Regions from separate parts of the Homo sapiens genome. Here all the other regions are linked to region 3. Evidence: promoter capture Hi-C in 16 types of primary human blood cells and fetal thymus (Javierre and others, 2016). All regions are on one chromosome and are shown on one strand. The core of a region is centred on a gene start or on the middle of the fragment in contact, and the rest is flanking DNA. Distances in the headings are between cores, read along the strand shown. Region 1 overlaps DCAF8 (DDB1 and CUL4 associated factor 8). Region 2 has its middle 7.3 kb from the start of CD84. Region 3 holds the start of NHLH1 (nescient helix-loop-helix 1). Region 4 overlaps ATP1A2 (ATPase Na+/K+ transporting subunit alpha 2).

The links. Contacts are between HindIII fragments. The CHiCAGO score rates a contact against its expected background, and 5 or more counts as called.
Region 1: a contact is called between a fragment that was not itself captured here and the fragment with the promoter of NHLH1 in region 3, in 1 of 17 cell types (erythroblasts). The highest score is 5.5, in erythroblasts.
Region 2: a fragment that was not itself captured here is called in contact with the fragment with the promoter of NHLH1 in region 3 in 6 of 17 cell types (total B cells, naive B cells, naive CD4 T cells and 3 more); the score reaches 8.4 in total B cells.
Region 4: a fragment that was not itself captured here is called in contact with the fragment with the promoter of NHLH1 in region 3 in 1 of 17 cell types (erythroblasts); the score reaches 5.9 in erythroblasts.

What each region holds. Positions count from the first base shown.
Region 1 is chr1:160,217,316-160,220,707 of GRCh38, reverse strand. DCAF8 (DDB1 and CUL4 associated factor 8) reads left to right here. Exons shown (of 14, transcript NM_015726.4): 12 at 1,740-1,859; 13 at 2,268-2,384; 14 at 3,000-3,392. The coding sequence ends at 3,116. Among named protein-coding and RNA genes, the nearest start is that of PEA15-AS1, 10 kb to the right of the region's middle. The HindIII fragment of the contact is 347 bases long and covers 1,833-2,179 here.
Region 2 is chr1:160,585,297-160,588,364 of GRCh38, reverse strand. No RefSeq gene overlaps it. Among named protein-coding and RNA genes, the nearest start is that of CD84, 7.3 kb to the right of the region's middle. The HindIII fragment of the contact is 1,373 bases long and covers 576-1,948 here.
Region 3 is chr1:160,365,437-160,368,611 of GRCh38, reverse strand. NHLH1 (nescient helix-loop-helix 1) reads right to left here and starts at 1,541. Exons shown (of 2, transcript NM_005598.4): 1 at 1,275-1,541. The HindIII fragment of the contact is 14,453 bases long and covers 1-3,175 here.
Region 4 is chr1:160,124,178-160,127,663 of GRCh38, reverse strand. ATP1A2 (ATPase Na+/K+ transporting subunit alpha 2) reads right to left here. Exons shown (of 23, transcript NM_000702.4): 6 at 3,234-3,368; 7 at 2,411-2,528; 8 at 1-112. Among named protein-coding and RNA genes, the nearest start is that of ATP1A2, 10 kb to the right of the region's middle. RefSeq lists an enhancer at 2,268-3,467. The HindIII fragment of the contact is 1,803 bases long and covers 349-2,151 here.

The DNA.
Region 1 (3,392 bases), core at 757-3,256, 150 kb after region 3:
CCATTCAGCTTCACAGGGACAAGGGTTGGGGGTGGTATCAGAGGACAGCCCCTTAGTCTCCCAAGAGCACTTTGATGCTTGATCCCATTCTCTACATTCCCCCAGCCCAGTCATCTAAGGCCAGAGCTCTTTTCTCTGCTCAGGCATTATTGACAGGATAAGTCCTGGCATTCAGACAGGTCTGGTGAAGTGACCAGGTACTCTGGCCCAGAAGTTCTCTGTCGGCTCCCCCCGCAGGCTCCAATTCAGGTACTGTATGTTATTCTCTTGTTCCTCTTGCCACTGGCTTTTTCCTTAGTCTTAAGTTCCAAGGAATTGTTCCCCTGTGTTTTTTTATTTTCCTGACTTATTCAAGCAGAGCTAGCTCAGAGTACAGGTCTGTAACAAGGGCTTATTAGGAGATAGATGAAAAAGTGCAGGTTTGTATATGTAAGTTGTCCATTACTATAGATAGATACTATTCCAGGCATTGGACTTTAACTGCACTGCCTAAAAGAGCCCAAAGATAAACTTCACAATAGGCTGATATGTGGAATGGGAGGAGGAGATAAAGAACGGGGTTTCTGTTTTATTCATAAGCTCAGTCTTAGCTTCAGTCTTTTCTGAGCATTTGTTTATTTGTAAGATGGAAGTCAAAGTAAGTGGGAAGTCTGTAGGTCAGCTCTATTTTCCATGCCTGCCCTTGACTTCTCCTCAGCTGTTCTCTGCCTGTGCAGGTGAGGCAGCGGAGGTGGTTGGTCCAGAGAGAACTAAAAGAAGTTGTTTTCTTGGACTATAGGTCCAGCTGCAAGGCAGGGTGCCTTTCCTATGTGTTCCTCTTTTCACTAAAAGACTCAAAATGCTTTAGCAGCTAGATCTGGAACTAACTCTTCTGGATGGGGTAGGAACTTCCCTGCCCTTCCCTTAGGGAAGCTCATGTTTCCAAGTCAGACAGCAGGGGGCATTGGGTGCCTTTCGGACAGAAGGAAGCTGCCTAAGCTAGAAGGCCTGCCTGCTGGAGTTTATTTCTTTTGCCTTGTTCAGTGAATTTACCCAGAGGGTGGCTGAGATTGAGGCTTTGGGAGCCCCAAGAAGCTGCTTGGTTTTAATGTGCTGCCTTATAGCTGAGCCTGTTGTGCTCAGGGCAAGTAGTAGGATGTTCCCCCTGGGATGTGCAAGGTTCTCTCAAGCAGACATGAGCCTCCATCACTCCCACCACTCCCTGCAACTCAGCCTCCTCTTCTCAGCCTGTGCCTTCCTCCAGTTCTAGTAAACACTGCCAAATGAATATAGTTCTCCGACTCTTCTCTGGGGGTTCATTGGCAGCTGCTGCTTTCTTCATTTTTTAAAATTTATTTGCCACTTGGTGAAAGCCACTGAGATGGTTTTTTCCAGCCTTGGGCAAGTTGGAGCTTTGGAATCTGGAGTGAATGAGGTCATCTGGATTTCATTGTCTTCTTACGAAGCCAGCAGTAAGCTTGGGCAGTCCACTCACCCACCCCTAGGGCCATATCTGGGGATGAAGCCACCCCCGACCTATACATAGGAAATGATTGATGTGCCTGGTCTTATACCCAGTCTGTGTCTGGTTTCTCTACCCTCAGTGCCCTTTGGCTTAGGCTCAGGATGGGTGGGCCTCCCTTCCCCAGCAGCTGCCTCAGCCCTGATCAAGGGCAGTTATTTGGCTCAAGGTGAGTAGTGGTTTTTAAACCCTACTCCCACACACTGCTGAGTCTGTGTTTTCCTTTCTTCCTGACCAGGTAAACTGTCTTGAGCCCCACCCTCACCTGCCTGTGCTGGCAACCAGTGGCCTAGACCATGATGTGAAGATCTGGGCACCCACAGCTGAAGCTTCCACTGAGCTGACAGGGTTAAAAGATGTAAGTGGCTGACTGCAGAAGTTATTTTCTTTCTGCTTATCCACATACTGTTGATTCTTATTGTCATAGGGAGGAATAACTTGCTGCCCAGTTCTTTAAAGGCACTGCTCTAACACCCTCCCCCACATTCCTGTAATTTCCTCTGTAGGAATAGTCCTGCTCCAGGGGGCAGCTGTGAAGTGGCACTAATTTGTAATAGGATGGGGATAAGGAGCATCTTTAAGAATTATTCTGTATTAAAGCCTGCTACCTTTTCAGCAGCTGAACCTAGGGCATCATTTCCTAATCTAATGTAGCTCCACTTCAACTTAAGGGAAGCTTTTATTGGGATAGGAGATCAGCCTTCTTGATCAGGTCCCGGGTTCCTCTTCATTGCTGCCCCCTCTTCCCAACCTTTTTGGGTTCCAGGTGATTAAGAAGAACAAGCGGGAGCGGGATGAAGATAGCTTGCACCAAACTGACCTGTTTGATAGTCACATGCTGTGGTTCCTTATGCATCACCTGAGACAGAGACGCCATCACCGGGTAAGCTAGGGTTGGAAATGAATTCCCAAGGGAGTGACCCTTTTAAGAGGGCTAAAAAGTTCCAGAGTAGTGACTTCAAGCAGTAATCAGGTGATCTTGGTCGGATTTCCTATCCACTGTCCTCTGTCCCCATCAGATCCCTGATATAGCCTTGGAAGAGACATCAGCAGAAAAGGGTGGTATCTACTTTTGTCCATTGCCGTCCATGTGTAATGCTATCTTCATAAAGGCAAAAGCTGGAGGGTGGAGGAGGGAATTGAGAAGAAATAACAAGTCTCAGTGTGACCCTTCTATTTTTCCTCTTATGCCAAAAGAGGCCTAGTTCAGGGGTTGGCAAACTGGCAGTTGGCCTGCTGCTGGTTTTTGTAAATAAAGTTTCATTGGCTTGCAGCCATACCCATTCTGTGTATTGTCTGTGGCGGCCTTCACGCTACAATGAGTTGAATAGTTGCAATAAAGACCATATAGACCACAAGTCTAAAGTATTTACTCTCTGGCCCTTTAAGAAAAATTCTGCTGATCTCTGGCCTAAAGCATCTAAATTCTGGCTAAGACCTAACAGGCTTGTCCTTGTTCCATCCAGGGAAGTTACTAACAAGCCTTTCCCATCCACAGCGCTGGCGAGAACCTGGGGTTGGGGCCACAGACGCGGACTCTGATGAGTCTCCCAGCTCCTCAGACACATCGGACGAGGAGGAGGGCCCTGACCGGGTGCAGTGCATGCCATCTTGAGGCCTCATACCTAGGTGGGGCAGGCTGGGGCTGCCAACCTGATCCTGCCTGGGCAACCCTTTCCTGTCCCAGGCCCTACATTCAGCAGAAACGCACTTTGGACTTTTTGCTTTAGATAAAAGAAAGACATCCCAGGAGAAGGACAAACCAGAGGAGTGAACCAACAAAGAGTACCTAGGAATGGGAGTTGAGCCCTGGAATGGGGCTCTATGGAGAGGTGCATAGGACTCGGCAGAAATGGCCTCTCCCCAAAGCCTCTTTTTGAGAGGAGAGGGA
Region 2 (3,068 bases), core at 13-2,512, 220 kb before region 3:
TCATGCCAGTGCACTCCAGCCTGAACAACAGAGCGAGACCGTGTTTGTTTTTGGACATTCAAGATTCAACTACACAATGAGAAATTCCCACAATAACATATATGTCAAAGGTCCATCCAGTCTTGGCTTTAACTGTTGATTCCGGGATGACAATTGTTAGGGGGAAATCTGTAGGTTGAAATGCTCTACTTTCCTGGAGCAACATTTATGGTTTACTAGTTCTGTCCATGGAGACCCCTTGACACCAAACACCAGCATTTCAAATACCTGGCTGTAATTATCACACTGATCCACATGATGCCTTAATCACAGCCCCCTCACTAGGTTTTCTCTTTTCCGGGCCAATGAATCCCAATTCTTTCACTGTTTGTCATATGGAAGTGTTGAACATAGCCCTGGAAACAAACCTAGTACTCAATAAATCATAATTTTGTCTGTCTTATTGTTCCGTGCCCAGTCTTTTACAATCTGTTGCCCTCTGGTGGATAGTTTTCCAGATCATTAATGTCCAAATGGTGTATTATAATTAACCTATTAGTGATAATACTATTAAGAATGAACATTTATTAAAAGCTTATAATGTGCCAAGCACTTTGCTAAGTGTTTTCAGACATTCTCATTTAATACTCAAAACAAACTTAACACGCTAATATGGCAATTCTTATTTTACGGATGAGGAAAACAACACTTAGAACAGTTAAGAAACCTGATCAGGGTGGCACAGTTGAGGGGTGGGGGCAGTGATCCTTCCCCTTTTCTCCCAAGCCTTCATTTACTTGCATCACAGTGCCATCTTATAACTTTATATTGGTTCTCATCTAAACTGTGGTTTCCTCCCTTCACTTTTCTCATGACAGGTTTTTTTTTGTTTTTTCGGTTTTGTTTTTTGTTTTTTTTTTAATGTTCCGATAAAACTTTACATTTATACGCTGGGCGCGGTGGCTCACGCCTGTGATCCCAGCACTTTGGGATGCCGAGGTGGGTGGATCACCTGAGGTCAGGAGTTCCAGACCAGCCTGGACAACATGGTGAAACTCTGTCACTACTAAAAATACAAAAATTAGCTGGGTGTGGTGGTGCATGCCTGTAATTCCAGCTACTCGGGTGGCTGAAACAGGAGAATCGCTTGAACTCAGGAGGCAGAGGTTGCAGTGAGTCGAGATCACGCCACTGCACTCCAGCCTGAGCTACAGAGTGAGACTCGGTCTCAAAAACAAACAAACAAACAAAACTTTACATTCAGAAACAGGCAGCAGAAAGGCTGTATTTTGATGATTCCTGTATTAGTTAGTTTAAATTTGTTTTCCCATTCAATTATCCTAAATAAACTTTAGATAAGAAATCAGGCCGGGCGGGGTGGCTCATGCCTGTAATCCCAGCACTTTGGGAGGCCGAGGCAGGTGGATCACCTGAGGTCAGGAGTTCAAGACCATCCTGGCCAATATGGTGAAACCCTGTCTCTACTAAAAATACACAAATCAGCTGGGCATGGTGGTGTGCACCTGTAATCCCAGCTACTCGAGTGGCTGAGGCAGGAGAATCACTTGAACCTGGGAGGCAGAGGTTGCAGCGAGCCGAGACTGTGCCATTGCATTGGGCAACAAGAGCGAAAACTCTGTCAAAAAAAAAAAAAAAAAAAGAATTCACAGGTTATTCAACTTGACCACCTGATATTGAGACAAGTATTCAACTTGACCACCTGATATTAATACAAGTATTCCACTCAATAAGTAGGAAAACTGAATTTGAAACTCAAGTTTTGTGACTCCAACACTTGAGAGTGTGTAATCTTCTTTTTTAAAGATTTAATTAATTTTTTAAATTGACAAATAATAATTGTACATATTCATGAGTTACATAGTGATGTCTTGATATATATAATTTATAGTGATCAAATCAGAGTAGTTAGCTTATTCATCCTGATGGTTTTATTGTAAAGCTCAAAGCTTTGGTCACAGAGGCAAACGTTTTTGGAGTCTTTTTATGCTATTTGGTTTTTTGTATTGCTTGTTCAGAGCCTAAACTTTGCTTGACACTACAAAAATTGCATGTACTCTTTCATTTCCCTTTTAATTATTTGCAGAATTAAAAATGTTTTCATATTTCTCTTATTCAAACCCTTCGTTGTTTTGCTTTCATGACATCAACTCTCCTGTTTTCCTCCTATTGCTTTAATAATTCTTTCTTTCTTCTCTTTTCTTTCAGTTATAGTTGTTTTCCAGAGTTTTATTCTTATGTTTTGTTTTTTAATTTACCCTTTATCTAGTATAGAGAATTTTTCAACATGGAATTAAAGATAATTATGAATCAGGTACAACTGAAGACTATGAAAAGACTTGGAAATGAAAGCGTATTACCAAAGTTTAAAACTCAAGCAAATAGCTGAAAACTGTAAACATAGCTGAGAACCCATGTTTGGAAGACATTCTATAGGGTGTCTATAAGGAACTCTATCAGTATGTAAAGCAAGAAGACAAAGAGAAAATCAGGAGATATTAATTCAGCAATATAGAGGATAGCTTTAAATATTTAGGAGGACTTTTAGGAAGAGCAAGTAGAAAGGCCAAAAAGGAAGCCATAATCAAAGACACAGAAGAAAAATTCCCTTTGATAAAGAAAGATTTGAACCATCAGACTGAAAATACAACTGATTCCAGCCAGAAATATGCCATGCAAACACACCAGGACACATCCTTGTAAAATCTTGAATTTCTGTGATAAAGGGAAAATCTTAAGTGTTTCCAGATGGAAAAGTTAAAGAACAAGAATAAAACTAGTATATGTTTTCTTGTTGCAAACCTAAATGCTGGAACCAATTTAGAACTTTCATTTGGTTCCTTTCTGGGTTTTTATTTCTGTCCAGAAATACCAATCTCTTCAATCTCAGACTTCAAACATTTATGAAAAATGAAATTTAAAAAGAAAAACTAAAAATGTAAACTTTATTTCTCAATAGAAGCTCCATCAAGTTCAAAACACTTTTGAAAGTGATGATACCAACCATTTAGAACATCCCTGAAGGACTGAGTGTCCTGGATACTTAACTATGTTAATGTAGTATTTTTACA
Region 3 (3,175 bases), core at 292-2,791:
TCTTCTCACCACCACCCCACTGTGCACAACCAGCCTCTTCCTCCACCTCTGTCTTCGAAATTTTCAGCCCTTGCCATTCCCTGGCCCTTTTGGAGGCTGGGCAAGGAAGATTGGGGAAAGGGAACATAATCAACCTTCTACCCCCATACTCTCCCATAGCCCAAGGAAGGTTCAGACACGGCCTGCAGAGGACACAGACAGATTTTTGGAGCTACCCTTATGGGACTCAGCTAAGGTTTGCTTGTCCTAGGACCAGAGGAGATCAGGGCAAGGCAGCACAAACATGGCCTGGGAAAAGCTGGGGAAAGGGCTTTGCTTGTGTGCAGTGTTAAAGGGGAACAGTGGGCCACTCACCATCAGCTCAACTAAGAATGATTAGAAACAGAAGCACCAAGGTGCCTGCACCATCACTATCTCCCCTTCCTCCCCAGCCCTGGCTTTCCTGTCTGATAGATACTCTCAAAGGGGTTAGGATCCTCCCAAGCCTTGCCCCACCCCACCACACAGAAGATAGGTTCAAGTCAAGCCAACAAACAGCTATGAAGCTCTGGAGGGATGCAAAGTCATCCACATCTGATGACAAGTACACACACAATCTTAACAGGAAACAGAAGGTGGTTAGTGCTGAAATTGAGAACACATTCCATATTCTGGGGTTCAAATGAACTATGGGGGGATGGCAATAGTGTGGGAGGCCCCAAAGTCAGCACCTCCCAGTACATGTTTAGTGCCCCCAACTCCCCACCCCCCATGCTGGGGCTGGGAGCAGGAGTTCAGCTGCGGAGTTCCCAACACATTTATCACATCTATCACAGGCTAATTCTCTCTGCCCGGTCCCTATGTTCCTTCATCCCTCATCACTTTGCCATGCCCTTCCTTCCCCTCTCCGTGCTCCCCATCTGGCCCCAGTCTCATCTCCACCTGGCCCCATTGTCCTCCCCAGTTCCAGTCCCGGCAGCAGCTTCTATTTACCCATCAAGTCCTCACCCCCAAATCCACTTCTGGTCTCAAAGTTCCAGGGTCCAAGGATCAGGGGAGCAGCAATTCCAAGCCTGCAGGACAGGACTTCCCACCCCACTTCTGCCAGCCCTAACCCAACTGAGGATAGATAGGCACAAAGAGTCGAAGGGGAGGAGTGGAGAAGAGGGACACGCGGAGACAGGGAGAGACACAGCGCACAAGGGAGAGAACTAGAGGGAGGCTCTAGGAAGGGGCTTGAGCCAGAGAATGGGAGGGACACGCCCATCCCTCCCCGCCCATGGTTTCCCCTTTACCTAGAAGGACCCTGTCAGGGGATCCAAGCCGGCAGGACAAGGGGCAGCGTTGACAGCCCCAGTCTCCTCTGGGTGCTCAAGGCTCATCCGTCTGCAAAGTTAGTGACCAGCTTTCTAGACTCTCAGGGGTAGCGTGGCATGGCTGTACAGGCTCCAGGGCAGATAAGAGGGGTACACATTGTGGGGGTGTAGGGCCCAGGTGGAAGTGGTGGGCTTGGCCAGGTACTGGGGCCAGCCACACTCACACACACACCCTCAGACACACACACCTGAGCTGGCCCAGCCCTATGTATATATATGGAGATACACACACACACCCCCAGCTCTCCATTGGCTGGCCCAGGCCCACCCCCCCCTCATCAATATTAAACAGCCAGGCCAGGCAGCCATTGGCAGAGGGATCTGGGAACCCCTCGGGAGCTGGGGGCGGGGGCTGGCCCTGGGTGGGGGCGGGGAGCGGGGGAGCAGGGACATCTGTTCTCCATGCATATTTCATAAGCAAGAAATGGAGAGCTGGGGAAGGGGTGGGGCTGGGGCGAGAGCCAGGGCAGGACCACAGATGAACCCCCTCAGTCTCCCACACCAGAGGCAGCAGGGCAGAGGCTCCCAGCAAGCTATGGTTAAGTGCCATGGCCCCATTCGGAGTCCCAGCGTGACTTGGACAGCCCCTTCCTGGTGTCTCTTTTTTCCTGAGAGGGAGACTCTTCAAGGTACTAACAGGGAAACCGAGAAAAGAGCAAGTGGGTAGCACTAAAATGCAGAAGAGGACCCTAGGGTCCTGGCCCTCAAGCTCTTATCCTTCATAAAGCTGGTACCCACTGCTTGCCAGCCTGCCTGTAGCAACTGTTCAGGCCCCTACCCTCATCACCCTGGGACTCAATCACCCCCATACCCTCTTACCCCACCCGCTATCTTCCTACCTAACCCATCACCAAGGGGAGGAGCAGGATCAAATTTGGGACACAGACCCCACAAGGAGTTTTTCTAGGCTGGCCAGCCCAACCTGACCCACTGGGAATTAGAGGGCTCTTAGGAAGAAAGAGGTAAGGGCTAAAAGGAGAGGAGTGGAGGAGTGCCAAGACAGGAAGAACCAGGATTGGAAGGACACTGGGAGAGGAGGGCAGGGCAGCCTAGGCAGGCTCTGAGTGTGTTTTGAGGGCATCAAATCAGCAATAAGAAAACCAGACACAAAATTATATGCAAATGGGCACTGATTAAGCTCCCATCAATAGCTCAGCAGCCTCCAGCATGTATATGCAAGTGTGTGTGAATGTGAATGTAAGTGTGAGTGTGTGTGTGTATGTGTGTGTTGCCGAGTGGCAGGATTGAGGAGGGGCAGCACAGGGACCAGAGTGCATAGAGAGACAGTGCATAGAGGGTTTCAGTGTCTGAAGTTCTCTCCCCACTCAGCTGTTGGATGTCTTCTCTGAACCTTTGAGAGTATTCAAAAGAACCATGACTGGAGAGGACTCCAGAGGTAGTGTGGTACAGTGAAAAAGGCTCTGTCAGCTGTGTGACCTTGGACAAATAACAACCTTTTGAGCCTGGACCTCTTTTCCTGTAAAATGGGGTTGATTATAGCTGCTTCTTAGGTTGCCATGGAAATTAAGGGAGATAATATGTGTAGTGGGCCTAGAGCTTAGTAGGAGCACATCCCACCTTCAGGCTGGAGGGACTTGCCATTTCCCTGTTGCTGGTCAACCTTTTCTGGGCTTTCTCCAGGGTGAAGCATTCCCTAAGGGGGTCCCATAATTCCTCCCCAAGCTCCCCCACCTGCCCCCATCCCTGAGTCTGGGAGGTGCCAACTCCCACCTGGGCAGGCCCAGACAGGTGCCCAGGCGCCAGCAGATGGGCTGAGCTGGAGGGGAAAGGAGGCTTGAGGAGGGGGGCTGGGGGGCAGG
Region 4 (3,486 bases), core at 1-2,500, 240 kb after region 3:
TCAATCTCCATTGCTATGGGTGTCCGCCCAACCTCCAGGCCTGAGGCGAGAGTAGCTATGCGGCCCATCACCGTCCGGTCTCCTGTGGCAATCACAATGCCCCTGGCAGTGCCTGCAACATGGTGGGGCATCAGGTTGGGTGCCTTGTGGCTCCCAGGGACTGCAGTCCCATCCTATTTCCTGAGCAAGGAAAATCATCACAGGATAGGTGAGCCAAAGCCGCAGATCTGGAGGCCACATTCAGTAGGTTGTCCCCACTTGGCCTTCCTTTCCCTGGATAGATCGCCAATCCTTGAATCAATACAACAGCAAATTATTTTCTCTTGTACTCGAGCCTGGGGAGAAGCTTGCAAATAATCTCAAAGTTCAAATAGACAAGATTCAATAAATAAAAATTGCCTGTGGCATTTTGGTAAAATCATTCCCATACTTGATACCATCCAAAAGTATATTATGAACACAAAGTAAAGCACTCATTATGGATTTTCCATCCAGTCTTAAGATTTTCTTTCTCAACATTAGGCATGAATCTCTATAGAGGAAGCCAGGCAATTGCTAACCCTTGTGTGACATTACAGGGGTCTTCTGGGAAGGAAGGGTGGTGTATTGAAAAAAGCATGCACATTGGAGCCAGCCAAATTTGGGTTTGAATCCTTATTTGAATTCCTATCTCGGTGCTGTTTTAATATTTAGATGAGATTGTGCTTTAATATACTTAGGCCAGTGCCTGGAACATAGCGGGTGCTCAACAAATATCTCATTTATTTCCTTTCCTCTTTTCAAAGCCAATTGCAGAGTAAGCAATAGGAATGTATTACTAGGCATTTCTGAATAAATCAATTGTGGGAAATGTAAATTTCAAAATCTCAGTACATTAAAAATTTAGGAAATTTGGCCAGGCTCGGTGGCTCATGCCTGTAATCCCAGCACTTTGGGAGGCTGAGGCAGGAGGATCACTTGAGCCCAGGAGTTTGAGGCCAGCCTGGGTAACATAGTGAGACCCCATCTCTAATATACATATATATATATTAGCTGGGTGTGGTATCACGCGCCTGTAGTCCCAAATACTCTGGAGGCTGAGGTGGGAGATCGCTTGAGCCTGGGAGGTCAAGGCTGCAGTGAGCTGTGATTGCACCACTGCACTCCAGTCTGGGTGACAAAGCAAGATCTTGTCTCAAAAGCAAAACAAAAAACAAACTTAGGAAATGTAATGTGTGGTGATTTTTATTTGTACAGTTGGCCCTCCATATTCACAGATTCCATGTCCATAGATTCAACCAACCTCAGATCGAAAATATTTGGAGCTAAATAAAAATAACAATACAACAATAAAAATAATACAAATTTAAAAACAAAACAGTATAAAAATTACATTGCACTCGGTATTATAAGTAATCTAGAGTTGATTCAAAGTATATGGGAGGATGTGCGCAGATTATATGCAAATATTATGCGATTTCATATCAGGGCCTTTGAGGATCCTTAGATTTTGGTAACGAAGGGGGTCCTGGAACCAATCCCTCATGGATTCCAAGCAGTGGAATTCCAACTTGTCGAAGAAGGGAAAAAAACCACAGAGAAACATAATACACTGAGGAGAAATGAGTAATGGACAGGGGAAGTGTGGATTGGGATATGAGGCCTCCTTTGCCCTATTTTCAGAGGCCACTGGTCTAGTGAGGCCTCTTTCTGTCTCTTCCCTCCTACTCCTTCTCTGATGCAGCCCTGACTCTGCTCACTGGCTTTACCACAGAGGGCACAGGTTTCAGTTGTGCTTGGACCCCTGCCATTAAGTGATGGCAGCTCTGGGAGTTCTTATTGACCTTTGTTTATCTCTAGAACCCAGAACAGGGATGGGGCAAACTGGGTAGTCTGTGCATGGTGAAACATGTCTTTTGATGTAACAAAGGTTAGAAGCAGCCTGAAGTAGGCCCCAAGTGTTCACCTGGCCAGAATGCCTTCTTGGCCCTCCCAGACCCTGGGGCCCTGGCCAAAGCAAAGGTTATCGAAGGGGGCAGCGAGGCCCAGAACCACAAGGAATAGAAGCATCAATCAAATCCAAAGACTCCTAAGAATCCAGGTTGGTTCTGAGCGTATGTGCATCTGTGTGTGCGCATGCGTAAGGGGTTCTTAACCCAATACCTGAAAGCTTTGAAATCCACTCAGTCTTGGGGTGGACAGAACAGAGATCTCCCTGGGGAAGGGAGATACATTTCCCATGGAGTCAGGCTGCCCTCAGTCAATACCCTGCTCTGTGGAGGGTGTTTCCATAATATTCAGGGCCCCCTGACCCCTCAATTGCCCCACCAATGGCAGAGCTTTTGCCAGGTAAGTACTACCAGAGCCCTTCATCCTGACTATGGATTCAGGATTCAGACTCTTTCCTACAGGGGGCAGCCTGGCTTCTCACCTTCAACACAGTTGGTGGAGAAGAAACAGATATTGCGGGTCTCCAGGGGGTTCTCATGGGTGAACTCGGGGGAGCGGGTCTGGGGCTCCGACTCTCCTGTTAAGGATGAGTTATCCACCTGAGGAGGAAGGAGTGCATAGTCATCAGACTGGCAGAGCCACTTGTATGCACACAGCTGTCTCCTGAACCACCTCCAACCACACTCAATCTTCATGACACGAGGAACAAAGTCACACTTGCCCTCATCACATATTTATGGCATTACTCATCTATTGCCCCTGCCCTGGTTTGGAATTCTGACTCCTCCTGACTTCTTATGTGACCTCGGGTTACTTGCTTAACCAAGAGAGCCTCCATGTACTCAACTGTAAAATGGTGAATGTAAACAGAATCTCTGCCTTGCACAACCACAGGGGGAGACACTAACACTGTAGTTATGAAAATGCACCTCCTGGGGTCATTCAGGATGCAACGTGTGTGGCCACATTCAGCAGCCCTGCATGATTACACCACTCTTTCAGAATTACATCAGATAGCACATCGAACATATATAAAGCAGCTGACACATAATTGGTATTCAATACATGATTGCTAAAAAGTGGACAACAAAGAAATACCTGGGGCATAGAGCATTCATAACACACAGATGCAAGGAGGCACTGCACAAGCACCCCACACTGAGAGAAGGTTTAGCAGGGGCATAGGCATGGTGTTGACATTTGGACCTGGGTCTCTCCACCTTTAAACCTCACTGGGCCCCTCTCAGCTCTGCACACAGCCTTCTCCTTAGACTCAACTGCTTGCTCTGGTATGACCTCCTCACCTTACAGCCATGAGAAGAGATGATCCGGAGGTCAGCAGGGACGCGGTCTCCACCCTTCACCTCCACCAGGTCTCCCACCACCACTTCCTCTGCGTTGATCTGCATCTTCTCTCCCTCCCGGATCACAAGGGCTTGCTGTGGGGAGCCACAGGCAGCTCATGAAATGCTTGTCTCTGCCCCTGCCTTCTTCTCCTGCTGGTCTCCCACACCGTCAAGCAGAAGGAGAAGCCCCATAAACAATTAGGTGCTGGCA